3 separate regions of the Homo sapiens genome follow, and regions 1 and 3 are each linked to region 2. Evidence: promoter capture Hi-C in 16 types of primary human blood cells and fetal thymus (Javierre and others, 2016). All regions are on one chromosome and are shown on one strand. Each heading gives the region's core, a stretch centred on a gene start or on the middle of the fragment in contact. The rest is flanking DNA. Distances are from core to core; before and after follow the strand shown.

Region 1 (3,655 bases), core at 1,089-3,588, 340 kb after region 2:
CTACTGCATGCCAGCCTGGACAGCAGAGCCAGGCTCTGTCAAAAGAAAGAGAGAGAGGAAGGTAGGAAGGAAGGAAGGAAAGAAGGAAGGAAGGAAAGAAGGAAAGAAGGAAAGAAAAAGACTGCCAAGGTCATGAGAAATAAGGTGACTGAGAAATTGACACAGACCAGAGGAGACTAGGGCAATAAGACAACGAAATGCAATGGGGTACCCTGGATGGGGTTCTTCACCAGAAAAGACTTAGATAGAAGAGCTGGCAACATTTGAATAAAGTCAGGAGGTTAACAGTCATGTACCAATGTTGATTTATCTTTTTTTTTTTTTTTGAGTTGGAGTCCTGCTATGTCACCCAGGCTAGAGTGCAGTGGCGCAATCTTGTCTCACTGGAAAATCCTTCCTTCCTTCCTTCCTTCCTTCCTTCCTCCTTCCTTCCTTCCTTCCTTCCTTCCTTCCTTCCTTCTTTCCTTCCTTCCTTCCTTCCTTCCTTCCTTCCTTCCAGTGGCATGATCTTGGCTCATTGTAAATTTTGCCTAATGGGTTCAAGCGATTCTTATGCCTCAGTCTCCTGAGTAGCTGGAACTACAGGCGCACACCACCATGCCTGGCTAATTTTTTGTATTTTTAGTAGAGATAAGGTTTCACCATATTGGCCAGGCTGGTCTCGAACTCTTGACCTCAGGTGATCCACCCACCTCGGCTTCCCAAAATGCTGGGATTACAGGCATGAGCCACTGCCCCCAGACTGATTTCTTTCTTTCTTTCTTTCTTTTTTTTTTTGGTCAGGGGGACAGAGTCTTGCTCTGTCACCCAGGCTGGAGCTTAGTGGTGCACTCTCAGCTCACCACAACCTCCGCCTCCCGAGTTCAAGCAATTCTCCTGCCTCAGCCTCCCGAGTAGCTGGGATTACAGGCGTGCACCACCACGCCTGGCTAATTTTTTTGTATCTTTATTAGAGATAAAGTTTTGCTATGTTGGCCAGGCTGGTCTCAAACTCCTGATCTCAAGTGAACTGTCTGCCTCAGCCTCCCAAAATGTTAGGATTACAGGCACGAGCTACTGCACCTGTCCTCAAAGTTCATTTCATAGTTGTAACAACATAGTTGGTTGTGCTGTGGTTAGGTAAAACGTTAGGAGACACAGAGTGTGGGGTGTATGGGAACTCCGTACTGTCCATGCGTTTCCTGTAAGCCTAAATTCCAAATTCAGAAGTTTATTTATAAACATTTAGTCGGGCACGGTGGCATGTGCCTATAATCCCAGCTACTCTGGAGGCTGAAGCATGAGGATTGCTTGAACCCAGGAGTTCAAGACCAGGTTGGGCAATGTAGCAAGACCTCATCTCTAAAAAAATAAAAATTAAGAAATAAAAAAGCAAGTTAATTAAAATAAAAAAATTAGAACAGAGGCAGGGCAAAGTGGCTTACCCCTATAATCCCAGCACTATGGGAGGCTGAGGGAGGAGGATCTCTTGAGGCCGGGAGTTTGAGACCAGCCTGAACAATATAGGGAGACATTGTGTCTACAATAAATAAATAAATAAATAAATAAATAAATAGCCAGGTGTAGTGGTGTGTGCCTGTAGTCTCAGATACTTGAGAGGCTGAGACAGGAGGATCACCTGAGCCCAGAAAGCTGCAGTGAGCTGTGATTGCATGCCTGCACTCCAGCCTGGGTGACAGAGCGACACCCTGTTGCAAGAAAAACAGAAAAAGAAAAAAGAAAAAAAAAAAGAAAGAAAATCTTTTTTTTTTTTTTGAGATGGAGTCTTGCTCTATCACCCAGGCTGGAGTGCAGTGGCGCAATCTTGGCTCACTGCAAGCTCCGCCTCCCGGGTTCACGCCATTCTCCTGCCTCAGCCTCCGGAGTAGCTGGGACTACATGCCCGGCTAATTTTTTGCATTTTTTAGTAGAGATGGGGTTTCACCGTGTTAGCCAGGATGGTCTCAATCTCCTGACCTCGTGATCTGCCTGTCTCGGCCTCCCAGAGTGCTGGGATTACAGGCATGAGCCACCTCGCCCTGACAGAAAAGCTTTTTTAAAAAAGGAACTTGGCCATTTTCAAACTGTTGCTTTGAAAGCAAGGACGTGTCCACACTTGTTCACAAAGCTTTCCTTGCAAAGGAGGGTGTTTAGTTTGGCCAGCACTGGACGTACCAAGGTCTCCTTGGCAACCGCACGCTTGCAGTTCATTTGTGCCTGCTCGCCATGGGGAGGCTGGGCAGAACAGCTCAGTTCAGGTAGGCAAAGCTGACCCTGTGGAAGGCTGGGGTGACAGGGAGACAAAGACAACTCGGAACAGTCCCTGCCTCCCTGAATTCTTTAGCACCGAGAGAAAGACACATAGATTCTTAAGACAAGTGGTGAGAGGCCAGCAGTACTCAATGTGACTGGAGGAAGAAAGGGGGAGGAACAATGAGTTAGAGGAGCAGGAAAGGAAAAGGGGTCAGGAGCCAGCCTCTGGAAGGAGCTTGTGCTTCTGGAGGGACCGCCGTCTCCCGATGTGCGTGTGGAGGATGTTGACAGCATCCGCGTCAGAGGACGGGCATGGGCATTAAACAGAAAAGCTTGACCATTTCATCAGCTCTCAGTGCTGATGCTTCCATAGTGCCTTTGACATTGAACTATGTCTCATGATCAATGGTGGGCAGAGTGGAATTTCCAGCACTGCTTCTTTCTTAGTAATAAATATACAAACCATAACGATCATGCATCTTTTTCCTTTTCTTTTCTTTTTTACCCAAAGAGCCACTTGATTTTTTTTTTTTTTTTGAGACAGAATCTCATTCTGTTGCCTAGGCTGGAGTGCAGTGGCGTTATCTCGGCTCACTGCAACCACCACCTCCCAGGTTCAAGCAATTCTCCTGCCCCAGCCTCCCGAGTAGCTGGGATTACAGGTGCGTGTCACCACATCTGGGTAATTTTTGTATTTTTAGTAGAGAGGGGGTTTCACCATGTTGGCCAGGCTGGTCTCGAACTCCTGGCCTCAGGTGATCTACCCGCCTTGGCCTCCCAAAGTGCTGGGATTACAGGCATGAGCCACTTCGCCCGGCCCAGATTTTTTTTTTTTTAAAGACAGCATCCCAATCTGGCACCCAGGCTAGAGTGCAGTGGCTCCATCACAGCTCACTGCAGCCTCAAACTCCTGGGTTCAAGTGATCCTCCCACCTCAGCCTCCCCAGTAGCTGGGACTACAGGTGGGCGTCACCACACCCAGCTCATTTTTTTAATTTTATAGAGACGGGATCTTGTTATATTACCCAGACCGGTATCAAACTCCTGGCCTCCAGCAATCCTCCTGCCTTGGCCTCCCAAAGCACTGGGAATACAGGTGTTAGCCACTGTGCCCGGCCTCATCTTTTAACCAAATGGGACTTTGGTGCAATGAATCATTCTCATAAGCAGCAAGGAGGCAGCCCTCAAGTTAAGCTGAGACTCCAAAGATGTTCATCAGTTTCCACAGGGAAATGTGCAGGCAGAAACATCCCCGGTTAGCCAGGGATAGCGCTGCATGTCTGTAGTTTCAGCTCCTCAGAAGGCTGAGACAGGAGGATCCCTTGAGCCCAGAAGCTCAAGGTTGCAGTGAGCTGTGAGATCACACCACTGCACTTTTTCACTTTTTCTTTTTTTTTTTTTTTGAGATGAAGTCTTGCTCTGT
Region 2 (4,060 bases), core at 1,464-3,963:
ATCTACCAAGTGTCTGGCACAATCAACCCTTGCCTAACTGAAATCTAGGCCCACCCAAGACACACCATTTGGAAGAGATGAGGAATGGGAAGCAGCAAGTTAACAAGTCCATGTGGGGAGAGAATAACGAATCCTACAGCCAAACAGAAAGGGGAGATTCCCACGTCTCTACCTGCTCCACTGAGTCACCAGACTGGACCCGAGGGACGGTACTGCCTCGGGATTTCCAGAAATTTGCAGTTTCCAAAGCTTTGGGAATAGGTGCAATGTGCAAAAGCACCTTCAACACCGCAATTTTCTATTTGGACGATGAAGAAGCGGTTGAAAAAAAATCATTTTTGGATACAAACTGTCGAATGGAAAACGGAATAAAAGTAGGATCATCGCAGCCAGGAATGGAGAGTGGGGGTGCTGTGAGGAGTTCAAGGCCGGGAGCTGGGGGACATGGACTGGAGACAAGACGGTGATGAGAAGAGTTGGGTTTCAAGGTTGAAAAACGCTGATGGAGGTCAATTCATTCATTTTGCAGGTGAGAGGTCAGAAACAGGCACAGAGACTTGACCAAAGCCAGGATCTCCAACACAGTGCTCCCCCCACAAGACCCTGCTTGGCCATTCTCTAGCGGCAGGGAAGAGGCGATTGCAGGGCTGCGGGATCAGAAGATCCCGGTCCTGTTCTGTAGGCCAGTGCAAGCCTACAGTTCAATGTTTGCAGGAGGCATGACTGTGGGCTGTCACTGCATGTCCTGGGGCAAGCCAGGCCAAAGCCACCTTTCCTAAAGGCCAGGATATTCTGGAAGTGAAGGGGGTGCTTATCTTTCTGTGGCCCTCTTTATATTCCAGCTATCCGGGTTCATCTCCTGAATGAGCTATAAACTAAACATAAGCTGGGGTTCCCCAGCCCTTCTGGCAGATCCCAGATAAAGATCCCTACAGTTGGGAAAGGGGAGAAATGAATGCCAATCAAAAGCACCCTGCACAAAGTCCCTGCCAGGGCCACAAGAGCCAGGCCTGTCAGATGTGAATAACTTTCCTGTAGCCCAGGTCACCTCCGGCTGCTCCTGGACACCTTAAGATTCTGAAGACTCCAACATCAAAAAACAAACCGAGTTGGGACTCTCTGGCTGGAAAGTGTCCCCACGGGCTCCCACCTCAGACAAAGAGGCAGAGAAGCCATCCCTTAAAGACCCCTGGCCTCCAGGGTGCCCAGGAAAGAAAGGAGGGCTCGTGGCTGTCGTGCCTCTCCAGGGCTGAGCTCAGAGCAACCGGGGGACAGATTTCCTGTATGTCGTTTTACCCATTTAAGTCCAAGGATGCAGCTCTGCGGAGGTGGCGACAGTCCTGTACATGAGGGTGCATGCACACTCCCTCCTGAAACACAGTTCCGGCCCCACAACCGGCCCTGAGGTCCCTTCCTTGGATCCAGGGAATCCCAGAATCCTGCTAGTCCTGTCTTAAGGGGAGGGTGGTGAAGTTTCCAAGACGAGGACACTGGCACAGAGGGTGTTGGGACTCGTCCCAGGTCACCCAGCTGTTAAGTGTGAAGTCAGGAGGGACACGAATCAAGAGGGGAGGGTGGGGGGACGGAATCTCCAGGGGCTGCATCTCAACATCTATCTGCACGGGGCCACTCTAACCCCTTCCTTCTCTTCCCTCCTCTCCGGGCCCTCCCTCCCTAAGCCTACCCTCAGTTCTTACCGTGACTTCTACTCCGTTTACTTCCCTTCCAGCTCCCATTTCCCCGCTTCCCAATAGCCGGCTGCCGCATCAGTTAGTTCAGAACCCCCCGCATTTACTGAGCGCCCACTGGGGGCCAGGCGCCGCCCTCTTCTCAGACACCCTTCCTTCAATCGCGCGGGCAGACGTCCCCAGATCGGTCTCGCACCCCTTCCCCTCAACCGCACCCCGGCTGTCCCGCCCCTGGCCTTGCCCACTCCCCCAGCCTGGGCCTCTCGTTCCCGCCTCCGTGCCTCCCCACAACGCCGTTTCCTGCGACCCCCCAATTACCACTTAAGCCACGTCCTCTTCAGAGAAGCTGCTCAAAGCCACAAGACTCACCCCCCCCACGCCCTCGAACTCCCTCACCAGCTCCATCCCCATCCACTTTCTCCTTCACCGTCTCGCTTCCACCTCATCCCCAGCAATCTCTCCAAGACCCCCAGGCTCGTTCCCGCCCCCTCGACCCCTGCCGTCGCGTCCCCCATCAGCCCTCAGCTCCGTCCCTCTTCTGCGCAGCCCCCAAAGGCAGGCTTCGAGCTCGAGTCGCCAACCCGAGGCTGCCTGGTACTCACCTGGCCTCGGCCGCCGCGCGCCGCCGGTCCCGGGCCGGGTCCCCGGCCGGACGACCGCCTGCCAGCCCGCCGCTGCTCGAGCCGCTCCGCCCCGCCGCGCCCGCCGCTCCCCCGCGCGCTCCCGCTTCCGGGTTCCGGAGAGGCGGGGACGGGGGCGTGACGCCAGCGCTCCTAGGGGCGGGGCATCGCGAAAAGCCCCGCCCCTACTGTCCGACAGATCAGGTCCCACCCACCGCCCCTACCCACTACCGCCGATGGTGGGCGAGACCAAGTGCGAGGGGAGGACAGGCGAAGCGCGCGTCTGGGGCCGCGCTCTCCACACTTAGCCGGCGCTGCCTCACGCCTCGCAGCCACCCCTCCTGCGTCTCCACAAATGGTCCGACCCGCAAGCAAGGGGGCGGGTCCGGCTTTGAAAAGCCGGCGGGTCGGGCCTTGAGGTGGAAGGCGGGAAAATGGCGGATTCCTCGGGGCGAGGCGCTGGGTGAGTTGGGGCTTCCGCAGGTCTGGATTTGTAGACGCCATAGGGCTGGAGAGGATGGGCAGCGGAGGTGGGGAGTTAGGACCCTCGGGGTGAGTTCGGGTTCGACCCCGCCAGGAACTGCGCGGGCCCCTGAAGACCCCGATGGCGTGCTGCCTCTGCGCATGCTCCGGAGCGCTGACACCCGACCGGCCCTGAGTTCCGCGTCCTCGGCTGGGACGCTGGGCGACCTCCGGCAAGCGGCCTGACCGCCCAGTGCCTCGCTTTCCTCCGCTACGAAATGGGGCCGATGACGCAGCTCAACCTCGTAGGCGTCGCGTGAGGCTGAAACGCGCTTAGATCGGCGCCTGGGTCTTTACTGTGATGTCGCTCTTGGAATTATCGTTATGCAGTGAACAAGTGTTGGGCGACCAAAGTGTCCCCTTTAATCCTCCCACGCGCTTTATTCTGTGCTCCCAGTTTACTGAGGAGATGATGGAGACCCAGGGAGGGGAAGTGACTTGCCTAGGGTAACACACCATGAACAAGAAAGAAGTTGAATACTGACCGAGAGCTAGGCATGAATGATCATGAGGCTATATTTGTCTAGTTTTGTTAATTCTGCCAGTGTTGATTGTGCCAGGTGCAAACTGAAGTGAAATTGGCCAGCAAGAGGAATCACTCCACCGCCCCTTGCCGTAACCGATAGATTGACAGTAGCACCTCCCAGGTACAGGTGCAGTAGCTGAGGCTCGCACAGGTTGTAGGGACCCCCCTCAGGTCGCAGCAGGTTCACCCAGGAGCCCATTCGGTTTGAGGCCACAGCCCTAGCACAGTCCCCAGAGGGAGTCTGTGCTCTTGTCTCTTTCTGGCTGTGAGACTGCCCCGGGGGTGACCTATGTAAAACCTGTGCGTCTTTGTTTTGCAGCGACGAAAAAGCAGGTGTGAACAGTTAGGAAGCTGTCGGGTTAGGAGGAGCCTACGGGCGAGCGCAGCTGCTGGCACCTGGCGAACATTTGCTAAGTTGCCTCTCCCCACGGTGGCCTGGAAGTGTCCCCAACATTGTCTGGGTCTCACTTTGGGGTCCTGGGAGCCTGCTTCAGAGGAGGTGGCCGCAGGGACCAGTGGAGCCGCCTTTGGTGATGGGAGCAGGAGTTACAGTGCCCTGGCCTTGGCCCTGCCCCTCCACTTGCCCATCCACTTGCCCCTCCTGTGTTGCTGGTGTCTGTTCTTGGATCCCTTCTTTTCTCACCAGCTCAGGCTGAAACCCTGAAACCCCTAGTCATCCCAGATTCTCCCTCTCCTGCACCCCC
Region 3 (4,177 bases), core at 418-2,917, 280 kb after region 2:
GGACTGCAAAAAATGTTTACTATGAGGCCATTTGGCAGAAAACGTTGCTAACCTCTGGCCCTAGGACTTCTCTCTGTTCCCAAGCCCCACCCCCTTCTCCAACCTGATCCTGATTAGCTTCCTCACTACTCCAAATGAGAGCTAAACGCTACCTGCGGCGAGGAGGGACTCATCTTCAGAGACCACCAGGAACCTCACAGCATCTGGAAGCTTCTCCAGCAATCTGTCCCCTTTGGAGGAAACCTGTGCAGAACCAGGGATGCCTGTCAGGCACTTCCACGGGTTAAGGGTTACAAGTCTGGAATTTTTTAATTTTTTAATTTTTATTTTTTTTGTTTTTGAGATGGAGTCTCACTCTGTCTCCCAGGCAGGAGTGCGGTGGTATGATCTTGGCTCACTGCAACCTCCGCCTCCCGGGTTCAAGCAATTCCCCTGCCTCAGCCTCCCAAGTAGCTGGGATTACAGGCACCTGCCACCATGCCCGGCTAATTTTTGTATTTTTAGTAGAGATGGGGTTTCACCATGTGGGCCAAGCTGGTCTCAAACTCTTGATCTCAGGTGATCCGCCCACCTTGGCCTCCCAAAGTGCTGGGATTACAGGCGTGAGCCACCATGCCTAGCTGACTCCATCTCTTAATAAAAATTTTAGCTGGGCATGGTGGTACACCCCTGTGGTCCCAGCTACTCAGGAGGCTCAAGCAGGAGGATCACTTGTGCCCCTAGGAGTTGGAGGCTGCAGTGAGCTATGATTGTGCCACTGCATTGCAGCCAGGGTGACAGACTGAGACTCTGTCTCTAAAAAATTTTTTAAATTAAAAACATAAAAGTTGGCCAGGTGTGGCGGCTCATGCTTGTAATCCCAGCACTTTGGGAGACCGAAGTGGGTGGATCACTCGAGGTCAGGAGTTTGAGACTATCCTGGCCAACATGGTGAAACCCCATCTCTACTAAAAATACAAAAATTAGCCGGGCGTGGTGGCACATGCCCGTAGTCCCAGCTACTGGGGAGGCGGAGGCAGGAGAATCGCTTGAAGCTGGGAGGTGGAGGTTTCAGTGAGCCGAGATTGCGCCACTGCATTCCAGTCTGGGCGACAGAGCAAGACTCAGTCTCAAAAAAAAAAACAACCAAAAACCAAAAAACAAAAAAACAGTTAAAAAAAAAAGGTAAAAAACAAATTCTGGCCAGGTACAGTGGGTCACGCCTGTAATCCCAGCACTTTGGAAGGCTGAATGAGCCCATAAGTTTGAAACCAGCCTAGGCAACATAGTGAGACCCCCACCTCTACAAAATAATAATAATAATAATTAGCCAGGCATGGGGGCATGCGCCTGTAGTCCCAGCTACTCAGGAGGCTGAGGCGAGAGGACGTCTTGAGCCCGGGAGGTCGAGGCTGCAGGGAGCCATGATCGTGCCACTGCACTCCCGCCTGAGAGATAAAGTAAGACCCTGTCTCAAAAAACAAAACAAAATATCTGCAAAGAGGCTTGAGAAAAAGAAAAACAACCCCAAGGATTTGGGAGTATCTTTCGTTGTTGTATTTGGTACCTTGAGAACTCATGAAGACCACAGGTCATGAGGTTCAGAAATGTGGAGCTTTGGGATTTGGGATGATTCTTCTTCTTCTTTTCTTTTCTTTTTTTTTTTATTTTTTAATTTTTTTGAGACAGGGCCTGGCTCTGTCACTCAGGCTGGAGTGCAGTGGTGCAATCTTGGCTCACTGCAGCCTCCACCTCCTAAGCTCAAATGATCCTCCCACATCAGCCTCTCAAGTAGCTGGGAGTACAAGTATGCACCACCATGATTCCTTTCTTTTTTTTTTTTTTTTTTTGAGATGGAGTTTTGATCTGTCACCCAGGCTGGAGTGCAATGGCATGATCTCGGCTCACTGCAACCTCCACCTCCCGGGTTCAAGTGATTCTCCTGCCTCAGCCTCCCTAGTAGCAGGGATCACAGGCACCCACCACCACACCCGGCTAATTTTTGGGCTTTTGTTTTTGTTGCTGTTGTTTTTTGTTTTGTTCTGAGATGGAGTTTTGCTCTTAATGTCCAGGCTGGAGTGCAGTGGTGCAATCTTGGCTCACTGCATCCTCCACCTCCTAGGTTCAAGCAATTCTCCTGCCTCAGCCTCCCAAGTAGTTGGGATTACAGGTGCTCACCACCACGCCCGGCTAATTTTTTGTATGCTTTTTTAGTAGAGATGAGGTTTCTTCATGTTGGCCAGGCTGGTCTCGAACTCCCAACCTCAGGTGATCCACCTGCCCCGGCCTCCCAAAGTGCTGGCATTACAGGTGTGAGCCACCGTGCCTGGTCAATTTTTGTACTTTTAGTAAAGACAGGGTTTTGCCATGTTGGCCAGGCTGGTCTCGAACTCCTGACCTCAAATGATCCACCCCCCCTCAGCCTCCCAAAGTGCTGGGATTACAGGAGTGAGACACAGCGCCCAGCCAGTCTATATGTTAATGTCCATGAAAGCAGCCGTCCACCAACCACCAACAGGGCAGGTGGATAGAGCCCAACTCCTAGTCCCTCTGTGGCGCAACTCTCAACCTCATTCCACACCATGTCTTAGAGATCCCCTGAAGGACTGAGCTTCAACAATTGCCCACATTGGTCAGTCCCCAAGAGACGCCAACAGATGTTTCCTGAACTGTGCTGAACTGCAAATCCCTACGATTAAGAAGCCAAGCGTGTGGCCGGGCACGGTGGCTCATGCCTGTAATCCCAGTACTCTGGGAGGCCGAGGTGGGCAGATCATCTGAGGTTGGGAGTTTGAGACCAGCCTGACCAACATGGAGAAACCCTGTCTCTACTAAAAACACAAAATTAGCCAGGCGTGGTGGCACTTGCCTGTAATCCCAGCTACTCGGAAGGCTGAGGCAGTGAGAATCGCTTGAACCCGAGAGGCGGAGGTTGCAGTGAGCTGAGATTACACCATTGCACTCCAGCCTGGGCAACAAAAGTGAAACTTCATCTCCAAAACAAAACAAAGATACAAGGCAAGATTATTTTTCCCAACTTCTAGCACATCTGAGCACTTTCAAGCTGAGTTAATGTTCACATCATAGTCAGTAAAGGTGCTTACCAAAGAGATGGAGCCATTGCTAAACCCGGTAACAAGCTTTCCTTGCTTCTGGACTGAGACGGCACAGGTAGGTGTTTCTTCTTTGATGCTGGACATATGTTGCTTCCCCTGAAGTTTTCCCGTAGCTGAGCTCCACAGACTGACCACACCATCCCTGGACACTGTCAGCAGTGTGGCCTGGGAGGCCAGCACGGCCATGCACATCCAAGGATCAGAGGCATCTCCCAGGATATGGAATACCGGCTCTGCAGTTTCCAGATTCCAAGCATTGATCTAATAGAATAATGAAGAGGAAGCAGCATCTTGGCAGGAGACCTAGACTACAAGTTTCCCGGAGTCAAATGCAAGATGCCTTCTCTTGTATACTTTATGCATTTTCTTTTCTTTTGGAGACAGAGCCTCTCTTTTTCACCCAGGCTGGAGTGCAGTGGTGCAATCATGGCTCACTGCAGCATCGACCTCCTGGGCTCAAGCAATCCTCCTGCCTCAGCCTCCCAAGAAGCTGGGACCACAGACACGCACCACCATGCCTGGCTATTTTTAAATTTGTTTTTGTAGAGGCAGGGTCTGACTATGTTGCCCAGGCTGCTCCTGAGCTCCTGGGCTCAAACTATCCTCCCTGCTCAGCCTCTCAAAGTGCTGGGATTATGAGTGTGAGCCACTGCACCCGGCCTATGCATTTTATTTTTAACACTCCCAATTCAGAGAAAAAAAGGAGAGGTGGGCCAGGCCTCACATGTGATTTTAAACTCATTAGCTACCTTACAAAAGGTACAAAGAAACAAGTGAAATCAATTTTAGTATTATATTTTATTCAACCTAATATGTCCAAGTGGTATCACTTCAACATGTAATCAATACAAAAATTATTATTGAGATGGTTTATATTATTTTTACTATACTAGGTCTTTGAATTTCAGCATGTTGGGACAGTCACATTTCAAGTGTTTTTATTTATTTATTTATTTATTTATTTATTTATTTTTTTTTAATGTTACTTTCAGTTTTGGGATACATGTGCCGAACGTGCAGGTTTGTTACATAGGTATACATGTGCCATGGTGGTTTGCTGCAACTATCAACCCGTCATCTAG

What was found. The method cuts DNA at HindIII sites, captures the fragments that hold promoters and counts their contacts. A CHiCAGO score of 5 or more calls a contact.
Region 1: a contact is called between a fragment that was not itself captured here and the fragment with the promoter of HAUS8 in region 2, in 1 of 17 cell types (endothelial precursors). The highest score is 5.9, in endothelial precursors.
Region 3: a fragment that was not itself captured here is called in contact with the fragment with the promoter of HAUS8 in region 2 in 2 of 17 cell types (M0 macrophages and monocytes); the score reaches 6.1 in M0 macrophages.

The regions. Positions count from the first base shown.
Region 1 is chr19:16,732,635-16,736,289 of GRCh38, reverse strand. All of the region lies in intron 3 of NWD1 (NACHT and WD repeat domain containing 1), which reads right to left. Among named protein-coding and RNA genes, the nearest start is that of NWD1, 15 kb to the right of the region's middle. The HindIII fragment of the contact is 457 bases long and covers 2,110-2,566 here.
Region 2 is chr19:17,074,105-17,078,164 of GRCh38, reverse strand. It overlaps HAUS8 (HAUS augmin like complex subunit 8), which reads left to right and starts at 2,713. Exons shown (of 11, transcript NM_033417.2): 1 at 2,713-2,771. The coding sequence starts at 2,743. It overlaps MYO9B (myosin IXB), which reads right to left and starts at 2,388. Exons shown (of 40, transcript NM_004145.4): 1 at 2,291-2,388. RefSeq lists silencers at 1,952-2,246, 2,241-2,590 and an enhancer at 2,771-2,970. The HindIII fragment of the contact is 21,850 bases long and covers 252-4,060 here.
Region 3 is chr19:16,790,529-16,794,705 of GRCh38, reverse strand. NWD1 (NACHT and WD repeat domain containing 1) reads right to left here. Exons shown (of 19, transcript NM_001007525.5): 14 at 3,084-3,356; 15 at 153-243. Among named protein-coding and RNA genes, the nearest start is that of SIN3B, 37 kb to the left of the region's middle. The HindIII fragment of the contact is 2,909 bases long and covers 213-3,121 here.